Regions from separate parts of the Homo sapiens genome. Here regions 2 and 3 are each linked to region 1. Evidence: promoter capture Hi-C in human tissues and cell types (Jung and others, 2019). All regions are on one chromosome and are shown on one strand. The core of a region is centred on a gene start or on the middle of the fragment in contact, and the rest is flanking DNA. Distances in the headings are between cores, read along the strand shown. Region 1 holds the start of MAP2K7 (mitogen-activated protein kinase kinase 7). Region 2 holds the start of NDUFA7 (NADH:ubiquinone oxidoreductase subunit A7). Region 3 holds the start of MCOLN1 (mucolipin TRP cation channel 1).

Region 1 (2,929 bases), core at 225-2,724:
CTGTCACCCAGGCTGGAGTGCAGTGGCGCAATCTTGGCTCACTGCAACCTCCGCCTCCTGGGTTCAAGCAATTCTCTGCCTCAGCCTCCCAAGTAGCTGGAATTACAGGCGCCTGCCACCATGCCCGGCTAATTTTCGTATTTCTAGTAGACACGGGGTTTCACCATCTTGGCCAGGCTGGTCCTCTCCTGACTTCGTGATCCATCCGCCTCGGCCTCCCAAAGTGCTGGGATTACAGGCGTGAACCACCATGCCCGTAACCTTTTATTTCATGTGACCAAGTAACACCCGTGTGCCAGAATCAAGGATGAGTCTCATGTTCTCAGAGCAGAGGCACAGAAGGCTGCCTGGAAGACGGAAAGGTAAAGACCTCAGCTATAACTCTACACTTGTGTGTGCTCCACCCACAAATCGTCACCAGAGGAGTTCCGACAAGCCGGTAACTCTCATCCCAAAGTGTTCCCTCGTTGGACCAGAAGCTGGAAGGGCACTTGGCAGAGTCTGCCTGGCCCTGGCCACCTCCCGGGTGTCCGCAAAATCAGAACTTCCTTCTCGCATCTAAGAGCAGAGGGAAGCCGCTCTTGGGGGGATCCCTGGGTTCCAGATGGGACATTTCCCCAGCACCCGTCGGACCACTTAAAGGAGTGGTTTAGGCTGCCGGGGGCCCAAGCACTGGCACCTAACCCCAGCGCCCCTCCTCAGATAGGAATTCTCCACGTCCAGGCGCTGGGCTCACGTTCCGGGTGCGAGAGAGATAAGGGGGGTGTCTTGAGGTTCTATGTGGGTCTGGCCAACAACTCTGGCCTTGACCTTGGCCCCGTCGCCGAGGGCAGGGGTCACACCGCTGGGTTCCCATGGCCGTCCCCTCCCCCCTGGCTTCGGCCAACTCTGAGCCTGCTGGGGCTGGCAAGAAGGGAAAGGGCTCTCGACGGAGCCTAATTACGGTGAGGAGGCGGCACCCCGCTGCCAGCAGGAGGCTAGGAGGTAATTAAGCACAAGAGGAATCCTAATAAAGCACCATCAGTGAGGAAGGCATTCCGAAGGGACGCCCAAGCCGACCGTGAAAAGCGAGGAGGCTGAGGCTGCACCGCCGTGGAGACCAGGGATCGACTGCCGCTTTGGGAACGAGGTTCCAGGAATGCGCATGCGCAAAAGCCACGCGGGCGAACACGGCTTCGCCTCGCTAAGCATGCGCGCCGTTTTCCCCGCCCACCGTCCTCAGAAGAATGGTGTTTCCTCGCAGCGCCTCTCTCAGGAGCGATCGGGAATTGGCGCATGCGCACTACGGTGGTGGTGGCGACGAAGGCGGGGGTTGCACGTTGCCTGCCTCGAGCTCTAGGTGGCGTCATCCTTCGGGCTGAGCCGAAGCACGCACGCGCGGAGGTTCGCACGCGGAGAAGGGCGGGTGCGCGCCGCGGGCATGCGCGGTGCGGGGCGAGACGGCGGCTCGACGGGGTCATCCGGGCGCAGGCGCAGTGCGGTGTTTGTCTGCCGGACTGACGGGCGGCCGGGCGGTGCGCGGCGGCGGTGGCGGCGGGGAAGATGGCGGCGTCCTCCCTGGAACAGAAGCTGTCCCGCCTGGAAGCAAAGCTGAAGCAGGAGAACCGGGAGGCCCGGCGGAGGATCGACCTCAACCTGGATATCAGCCCCCAGCGGCCCAGGCCCAGTAAGCACGGCGGCGTGGGGGAGGGGGCGGGCGGGCGGGGCGGGGCGCGCGCCGCGGGAGGCCCCGCCCCCACCACAAGGCCCCGCCCCCGCTTCCGGGGCGCTCGCTCTCCTCTCCGCCCCCCCCGCTGCGGGCTCGCGGGGCGAGGGTCACGGTGACCCGGGGGGCGTGGAGCCGGCGAGCTCCGGGGGGTTCGCACCCTCAGGGCTTGGGAGCCCAGTTCCCGGACCCAGGCGAGGCCCCCAGCTGATGACCCGCCCCCATCGCCGTGATCCTCTGGGTCGGGCTTCCCCGACTCCACGCGACAGTGACCACATCCAGGTCGCCCCGAAAACACAGACACGTCCCTGTTGACCTGATGCTACCACTCTCGTCATCTCAGGGACTGTCTGGCGCCCCCCTCCCCCGGCCTGGGGGCTTGTCAGCCCCGTGCAGCGACGATCTACGCACACGCGCACGCCTGGCTCGGGGACACCTGAGGTTACTTGACCACATAGAGCCCCTCCCCATCTCTTCTGACCCGAGGATTCTCCCTCTCGCTCTCCCTGTGACCGTGTCTGAGGTGGGGGGACGGGAGGGGGTCCCTTCTCCCCCTCTTGGCGACAGTGACCATGGCATTGGGCTCAGCAGACCCCCTCCCACATACACCAGGCCCCGCAAATCCCTGTGACCAGTTTCACTGCCACCATCTTGGTGAGCGTGTGGTGTCTGACCTCCAGAAATGCACATCGACCCCCAGCCAGCCCGGTGACTTTGTCACCTGTGTTCAAGTGATGGCTCCCCTTCCCTTCACACCCACACCCACCTGACCTGGGGACACCTGGGGCCAGTGTGACTCTAGGCCTGCTCCCGCCGCGCCCCAGCATACATCCACCTGCTTTCTGATCAGTCCCACCACCTCGGTACCTACCTCCCTGACACCTTGTCATCCTAGATCAGTACCTCTCGCTTCACACACACCTGGCCTGGGAACACTGACCATATCTAGTCTCCCGGCTTTTTCCCCAAGATCCTGGTCTCTAAATCCTCTGGGCTGGAGGAAATTAGATTTTCAAACCCTGTGAACACCACCCCTGACCCATGATCCTTTTTGTGTCTTTCTTGACCCAGTAAAATTCTCTCTTGTCTCCTCTGATGTGACCTTCGTAGTTTATTTAGTTCTCTCTATGGAGTCATTATGGCAGGCGAGAAAGGTACCCCCGTATCTGGGCACCCCACCCATTCCCTGGTCACCCAGCCTGACCTTCACAGCCTGACACCCTC
Region 2 (2,929 bases), core at 234-2,733, 420 kb after region 1:
CTGGAGTGCAGTGGTGCGATCTCAGCTCACTGCAATATCCACCTCCTGTGTTCAAGCGATTCTCCTGCCTCAACCTCCCGAGTAGCTGGGACTACCCGCGCGCGCCACCACGCCCGGCTAATTTTTGTATTTCTAGTAGAGAGGGGGTTTTACTGTGTTTCACTGTGTTGGCCAGGCTGGTCTCAAACTCCTGACCTCGTGATCCGCCTGCCTCAGCCTCCCCAAGTGCTGGGATCACAAGCGTGAGCCACCGCGCCCGGTCAGAATGTTTTTTCAATAATTATTCTTTGAATGGGTCCTTCCCATCATTCAGGGGACTCAACTGTCAATTTCCAAAGAAAGATCTTTCCCAATCATCTGACTTTACGTAGCCACCCTCCAGCTTCCACTTATTTTGTTTTGTCTTCAAAGCATTCCAGAACAATACTACCTGCTGTGTTTGTTTCCCTACTATGCTTCTCCCTAGAATGTGGCGTCCATGAAAGAATGTGGATAAGAACTTTCCTGGTTCACAAAGTTAAACCCAAGGCTGAGGTCATACATGACGGGGGCTTGTAAATATCAACTAATATTTTAATATAAATGAGTCTGAAATCAGGACACTTCTGGGTTCAAGTCCCCGCTGCCACTTTTTAGCTTCTGAGTGACTTGAGGCAAATGATTTCGCCTCTCTGGACCTCTTTTTTCATCTGTAGCTTGGGGATAACACTGACTAACATGGCCACGCTGAGCACTGCAAATCTAGCCTGATTGCCAGTCAGAATGCACGCCCGGCCTCGCTGTTTCAGGAGGGCTGTCCTCCGGAGTTCAGCAAGGTTAAAGGCAAACCTCTGCCTCCACAGCCTGGCAGGGGACTGGTGGCAGGATGTCAGCCCTCCGTTTCAGGGGTCTAAAGGAACACAGATTTCGTTTTTGGTGGAGAAAGGACAGAGCCAGAGGCTGGGCAGCGAGCGGGGCCTGCTCACCGCTTGGAGATCTCCTGGTAGCGTAGCTGCAGCTTCCCCTGCAGGTCATGCTGTGGGAAGAGGAGAGGAGAGGTCGGCCTGCAAGGCACCCCAGGAGAGAGGAAAGGAGAGGGCAAGGGACCAGGGATGGTCCGGGGATGCGCATTTTAAGGGAAGGCAGGGGATGAACACTCGGGGAAACGGATGTGGGTCCTGCAGGTGAAGAGCAAAGCCAGAGTCCGGGCCCACAGATCCAAGGCTAAGAAGGTCGGGGACTGGGGAAATCCCAGGCCTGAGTGGTTCCCAGGCCAGGAGAGGGTCCCGGGCTGAAGGGGTGACTAGCTGGGGGTTCCCAGGGAGATTCGGGGAGAGCGAAGGGTCCCGGCTTAGGAGGGAGGTGAGGAGCAGGAGCGGGTCCCGGACACACGGAGCCCGAAGCCCCCCATGGTGCAGCCCTGTCCGCCCCGCGCACCCCGGACGCCCAGTTCCGCAGCCGCTGGATGAGACGGGTGGCGGACGCCATCTTCCGTCCGCGATACTGAAGGGCGCAGCCGGTGACGTCTCCACCGCTGGGGCTGCTGGGAAAGACGCGGCGTGGTATCGCGAGACGGGAGTGGGCGGTGCTAGAACGTCCTATAAAGGCTCTCCCCGAAGCACGTGACTCCTCTCCGCCAGACCGCCGCCGCGCCGCCATCATGGACACCAGCCGTGTGCAGCCTATCAAGCTGGCCAGGGTGAGGTGGGGGCCCGAATTTGGGGGCAGGGGGAGGGATTAGAGGAGCCAAACGGGCCGGGTCTGAACCCAGCTTCTTTCCTCCAGGTCACCAAGGTCCTGGGCAGGACCGGTTCTCAGGGACAGTGCACGCAGGTAATCGGGTGGGGGCATTTGGCCGACTGCCGGCGACCTAAACCCTGATGTGACCTCTACCCTGCCCTAACCCCTGCCAGCCGGAATCCGGGAGCCGATTCTCATTTCATCACGGGGTTCTGATGGTTCCCTTTAACGATCTGTATTCTGGCCCCGACACGTTCTCTGAATTCATATCTGCTTCCCACTCCGCGGTGCCTTTCCGCGGCCCGCCCTTACTTCTTCCTCCACTCCGGTGGGGACCCGTAGGTGCGCGTGGAATTCATGGACGACACGAGCCGATCCATCATCCGCAATGTAAAAGGCCCCGTGCGCGAGGGCGACGTGCTCACCCTTTTGGAGTCAGAGCGAGAAGCCCGGAGGTTGCGCTGAGCTTGGCTGCTCGCTGGTGGGTGCAAAGAGGACACCCCTTTGATAGACCTTTGGTTGGTGGTAGGGAGGCTTCGTTAAGCCCAGGGTGAGAGGGTTTGGGAGGCAGAGTCTACATACAGAGACTGACAAGAGGGAGGCGGGAGTTTGCCAATTGCTGCGGGGCCTGTCAACATCTCATGTTTGGGTCTGTTTACAGGGTCTTGGATGTCGGGTTCGACCACTTGGCCGATGGGAATGGTCTGTCACAGTCTGCTCCTTTTTTTTGTCCGCCACACGTAACTGAGATGCTCCTTTAAATAAAGCGTTTGTGTTTCAAGTTAACTCAGGTTCTTGTCTGGGTTATACGACTAGGGTTTCTCCAGGTTTCTTGAGTGGCTCCCAGGCGGTCACCGATCCTCCGCACTCTGGAAATCCTGGCCGTGCGGTCTTGCCAAACGAAGCTTTTCCTTTTTGAGGCGGGGGGTCGTGTTTGTCGATTGCACCCTCTACCCCAAACAAAACACAAGCGTAGTAGGAATGTTTTATTAGCAAAGAAGTTTCAGAGAGTGGGTGGATCAGGGCTCTATCACTTGGTCCCCACCTCACCTTGGTGGGGCCAGAGTGAGCCCCTTCCTGCCACAGTCACCCCAACTGAAATTGCCTTTCTCTTCGGCCAGTGTTAGCCTCTGAGCAGGGGACCCTGGACCCTTCTGTGCGCCAAAGGCTGAGGTGACTGACGAGGAGATCTCCCCACAGCTAGGTGTAG
Region 3 (2,929 bases), core at 122-2,621, 380 kb before region 1:
CCATACAGTAGGTATACAAGTGGACAAAAAAAGTTGCTCATTTATGCAATCAACAAACATCTCTGGATTGCTGGGGTCTCAGCAGGGAACAAGATAAATATGGCCTCGACCTGCATGGAGCTCATAGATACTAAATTCAGAATACTTAAAAAATAATTACGGGGTATAGTACATTCTAGGAGAAGCATAACAAGACTTCTGATATAAATGGCAGGCAGCTTTCTCAATGAAGGATTTTGTAATCCCAATAATCACTAATTTAATAATCAGTACTGTTTGCCCAGCCTTATGCGATAGTTTTTGCATTCTCTCATTTAATCCTCTCAACAGCCCCAGTAGGTAGATGACTTTGAATATCCCCATTTTGCAAATGAGAAAATTGAGGCACATTTTTTTTTTTTTTTTTAGACAGTCTTGCTCTGTTGCCCAGGCTGGAGTGCAGTGGTGTGATCATAGCTCACTGCAGCCTCGACCTCCTGGGCTCAAGCGATCCTCCCACCTTAGCCTCCCGAGTAGCTGGGATTGCCGGTGCATGCCACCGCCCACTGCGCTCAGCTTGGAGTTGAAGGGACTCTGGAAGATGTAGAAGTGGCATTGTCAGTGCCTAGATTTAAATCCCAATTGCCCTCCAGGGTCCAAATTCTTAACCATTACGCTCCAGGGCAAAAGTATGCAAAGGCTCTGGGGCTATAGAAAGATGAGCTTTGGATGGAGGTAGGAGCCAGATCAGAGGGCCCTGATAGACGAGAGTGGGGACTCTGCCTGTCATTACAGAGCAATGGGAAGCCGAGGGCAGGTTCTCGCAGGAAGGATAGGAATTATTCTTTGAAGATGCTTGTGGCTGCTGGGTAGAGAGTGGAGTGGAGGGAGGCTGAGATCGGGGAGGAGGTTGCTGCAAAGATCCAGGCCAGGAATGTTGGAAGACTCTGGGCTGGGGGCCATGGGGTGGGGATAAGTGGTTCTATTTGATACATAATTAGGAAATCGTGTTTGCTGAAGATGCGCAGGAGAAGGGTAAAAGGAGTTTCTGGGAGAAAGAGGAAGACAGCGTTGAGATAGTAGGCAGGGTCATCACCAGGCACCAAGGAGGATAAGGGGTCAAGCTCTGGACATGGAAGTCACAAGCCTGGCACCGGATTCGGGGCATGGCCGGGAGCCAGGGCAGAGCTCGTCGTTGCCAAACTCAGAGTCAGCCCATCCCCCGCCACCCAGAGCGCGTCGGCGCTAGGACCTAGCGACTGCCTTCGACCCAGAGGGCGCCGGCAGAGGCACGCATGCGCGCTGTTCCGGCAGGGGTTGTCGTGGCGCAGGGGGCGGGACCAGAGGCGGTCACGTGAGGGGCTCTGGGCTACCGGGTCACGTGACCGAGGCACAGATCAGCTGATGCCGGAGGGTTTGAAGCCGCGCCGCGAGGGAGCGAGGTCGCAGTGACAGCGGCGGGCGATCGGACCCAGGCTGCCCCGCCGTACCCGCCTGCGTCCCGCGCTCCCGCCCCAGCATGACAGCCCCGGCGGGTCCGCGCGGCTCAGGTGAGGGCGCGGGCGGCACCGTGGGGCCCCGAACTCAGGCGGGCGGGCTGTGTCTCCCACCTGGGGCGGCGGAGCTCCTAGTCTCTTTTTTTCTAAGCTCCAGCGCTGACTTTTCACGGTGGAGAAAAGGGCAGACGGCTCCTAGAACTTGGGCGGCGGGTGGGCACCAGCCTCTCCAATTCTTCCTCCTGAACCCAGGCTCTGCTGGGTTCCCAAACTCAGGCAGGGATCGCGCCGGGCCGCCAGCTTCTCCCTCTGGGGCGGCGAGGTTCCTGGGATTCCCACTGGGAGCCTAGGTTCCGATTGCTCAACTTCGTCTGGAACTCAGACAGCGGGCACCAGCTTCTCCAACCCGCACGTGAGACTCCCAGGCTTCCCCTCCTGATTCCAGGGGACAAATGCTCAGCTTCCCTAAGCTCAAGCCTGGAGAGCTGGAGGGATTGCCCCCAGGCGATTAACTCAGTTTTAGCTTTCCAAACCGCTGGAAGCGCAGCCTTCTTAAATTCGGGCTTCTAGCCAATTCTGATGCCACCCCTCCTCGGGGAGGCTGGAGGAAGACCCCTTGTGTTAGCTTCCCCTTCTGGAGCTAGCTGGGGACCCCTACCTGATAGATGTCCCGGTGTCCCAGCTAGTAGGGTCTGGGGTGGGTTAGCTGTAATCTCAGCTCTGTAAGCGGGCCCTGCCCTCTGGCTTTGTCGTAAACAGCCACAGCAGCATCTCATTGCAAAGGGAGGGGCCGGGAACTTGTCCCTCTCTGCAAGGGAGGTTCTGACAGTGCACACATTTATCCTGACTGCTTTGCTAGGCAGGAGGCCAGGCCCTAGAAAGCAGCACGGGGCCAGGCCCTAGAAAGCACATCCCCATGGGGGTGTGACAGGGACAGTTTTGGGCTACTGTGACTGGTTTTGACTCCAGCAGTTGCTGAAAGCTTAGATCTAACCATTAGGCTGGAAAAAAATAAACAGTGATTAGAACAGCTTGTGTTTGCTGAAGAGGTCTTTATCTGCTGTGTCTCACTGAATTCTCAGAGCAGCTTCAGGATCTCAACCTCAAGGCTCAGGGAGAGGGTGGACTTTTTTTTTTTTTAATAAACTTTTTTTTGTTGCCCAGGCTGTAGTGCAGTGGCATAATCCTAGCTCATTGTAACATCGAACTCCTGGGCTCAAGTGATCCTCCCAACTCAGCCTCCCGGGTAGATGGGGTCCCAGCTACTAACTACGGGCATGAGCCGTCACACCTGACTATTTAAAAAAAATGTTTTTTTTTTGTAGACAGGGAGGTCTCGCTGTATTACCTAGGCTGGATCCTCCCACCTTGGCCTCCCAAAGCCGTTGGGATAACAGGCATGAGCCACTGAGCCCAGCCAAGGGGTCGCCTTTTTAAAATTTCCACTCTTCAGA

What was found. Contacts are between HindIII fragments. The study calls those that stand out against the background at their distance.
Region 2: a contact is called between the fragment with the promoter of NDUFA7 here and the fragment with the promoter of MAP2K7 in region 1, in 1 of the 25 tissues and cell types used here (spleen).
Region 3: a contact is called between the fragment with the promoter of MCOLN1 here and the fragment with the promoter of MAP2K7 in region 1, in 1 of the 25 tissues and cell types used here (lymphoblastoid cells).

What each region holds. Positions count from the first base shown.
Region 1 is chr19:7,902,403-7,905,331 of GRCh38, forward strand. It overlaps MAP2K7 (mitogen-activated protein kinase kinase 7), which reads left to right and starts at 1,475. Exons shown (of 11, transcript NM_145185.4): 1 at 1,475-1,666. The coding sequence starts at 1,543. LOC124904630 (a long non-coding RNA gene) reads right to left here and starts at 1,112. Exons shown (of 2, transcript XR_007067121.1): 1 at 1,019-1,112; 2 at 1-347. RefSeq lists enhancers at 752-1,329, 1,978-2,517 and a silencer at 1,687-2,036. The HindIII fragment of the contact is 24,212 bases long and covers 1-2,929 here.
Region 2 is chr19:8,319,892-8,322,820 of GRCh38, forward strand. NDUFA7 (NADH:ubiquinone oxidoreductase subunit A7) reads right to left here and starts at 1,484. Exons shown (of 4, transcript NM_005001.5): 1 at 1,417-1,484; 2 at 966-1,015. The coding sequence starts at 1,467. RPS28 (ribosomal protein S28) reads left to right here and starts at 1,605. Exons shown (of 4, transcript NM_001031.5): 1 at 1,605-1,678; 2 at 1,765-1,812; 3 at 2,062-2,200; 4 at 2,381-2,929. The coding sequence starts at 1,640. The coding sequence ends at 2,184. It overlaps KANK3 (KN motif and ankyrin repeat domains 3), which reads right to left. Exons shown (of 11, transcript NM_198471.3): 11 at 2,693-2,929. RefSeq lists enhancers at 1-571, 572-1,539, 1,394-1,633, 1,540-2,507, 2,508-2,929. The HindIII fragment of the contact is 5,252 bases long and covers 1-2,929 here.
Region 3 is chr19:7,521,253-7,524,181 of GRCh38, forward strand. MCOLN1 (mucolipin TRP cation channel 1) reads left to right here and starts at 1,372. Exons shown (of 14, transcript NM_020533.3): 1 at 1,372-1,529. The coding sequence starts at 1,499. LOC105372261 (a long non-coding RNA gene) reads right to left here. Exons shown (of 3, transcript XR_936294.3): 2 at 1,590-1,910. RefSeq lists a silencer at 1,406-1,535. The HindIII fragment of the contact is 17,633 bases long and covers 1-2,929 here.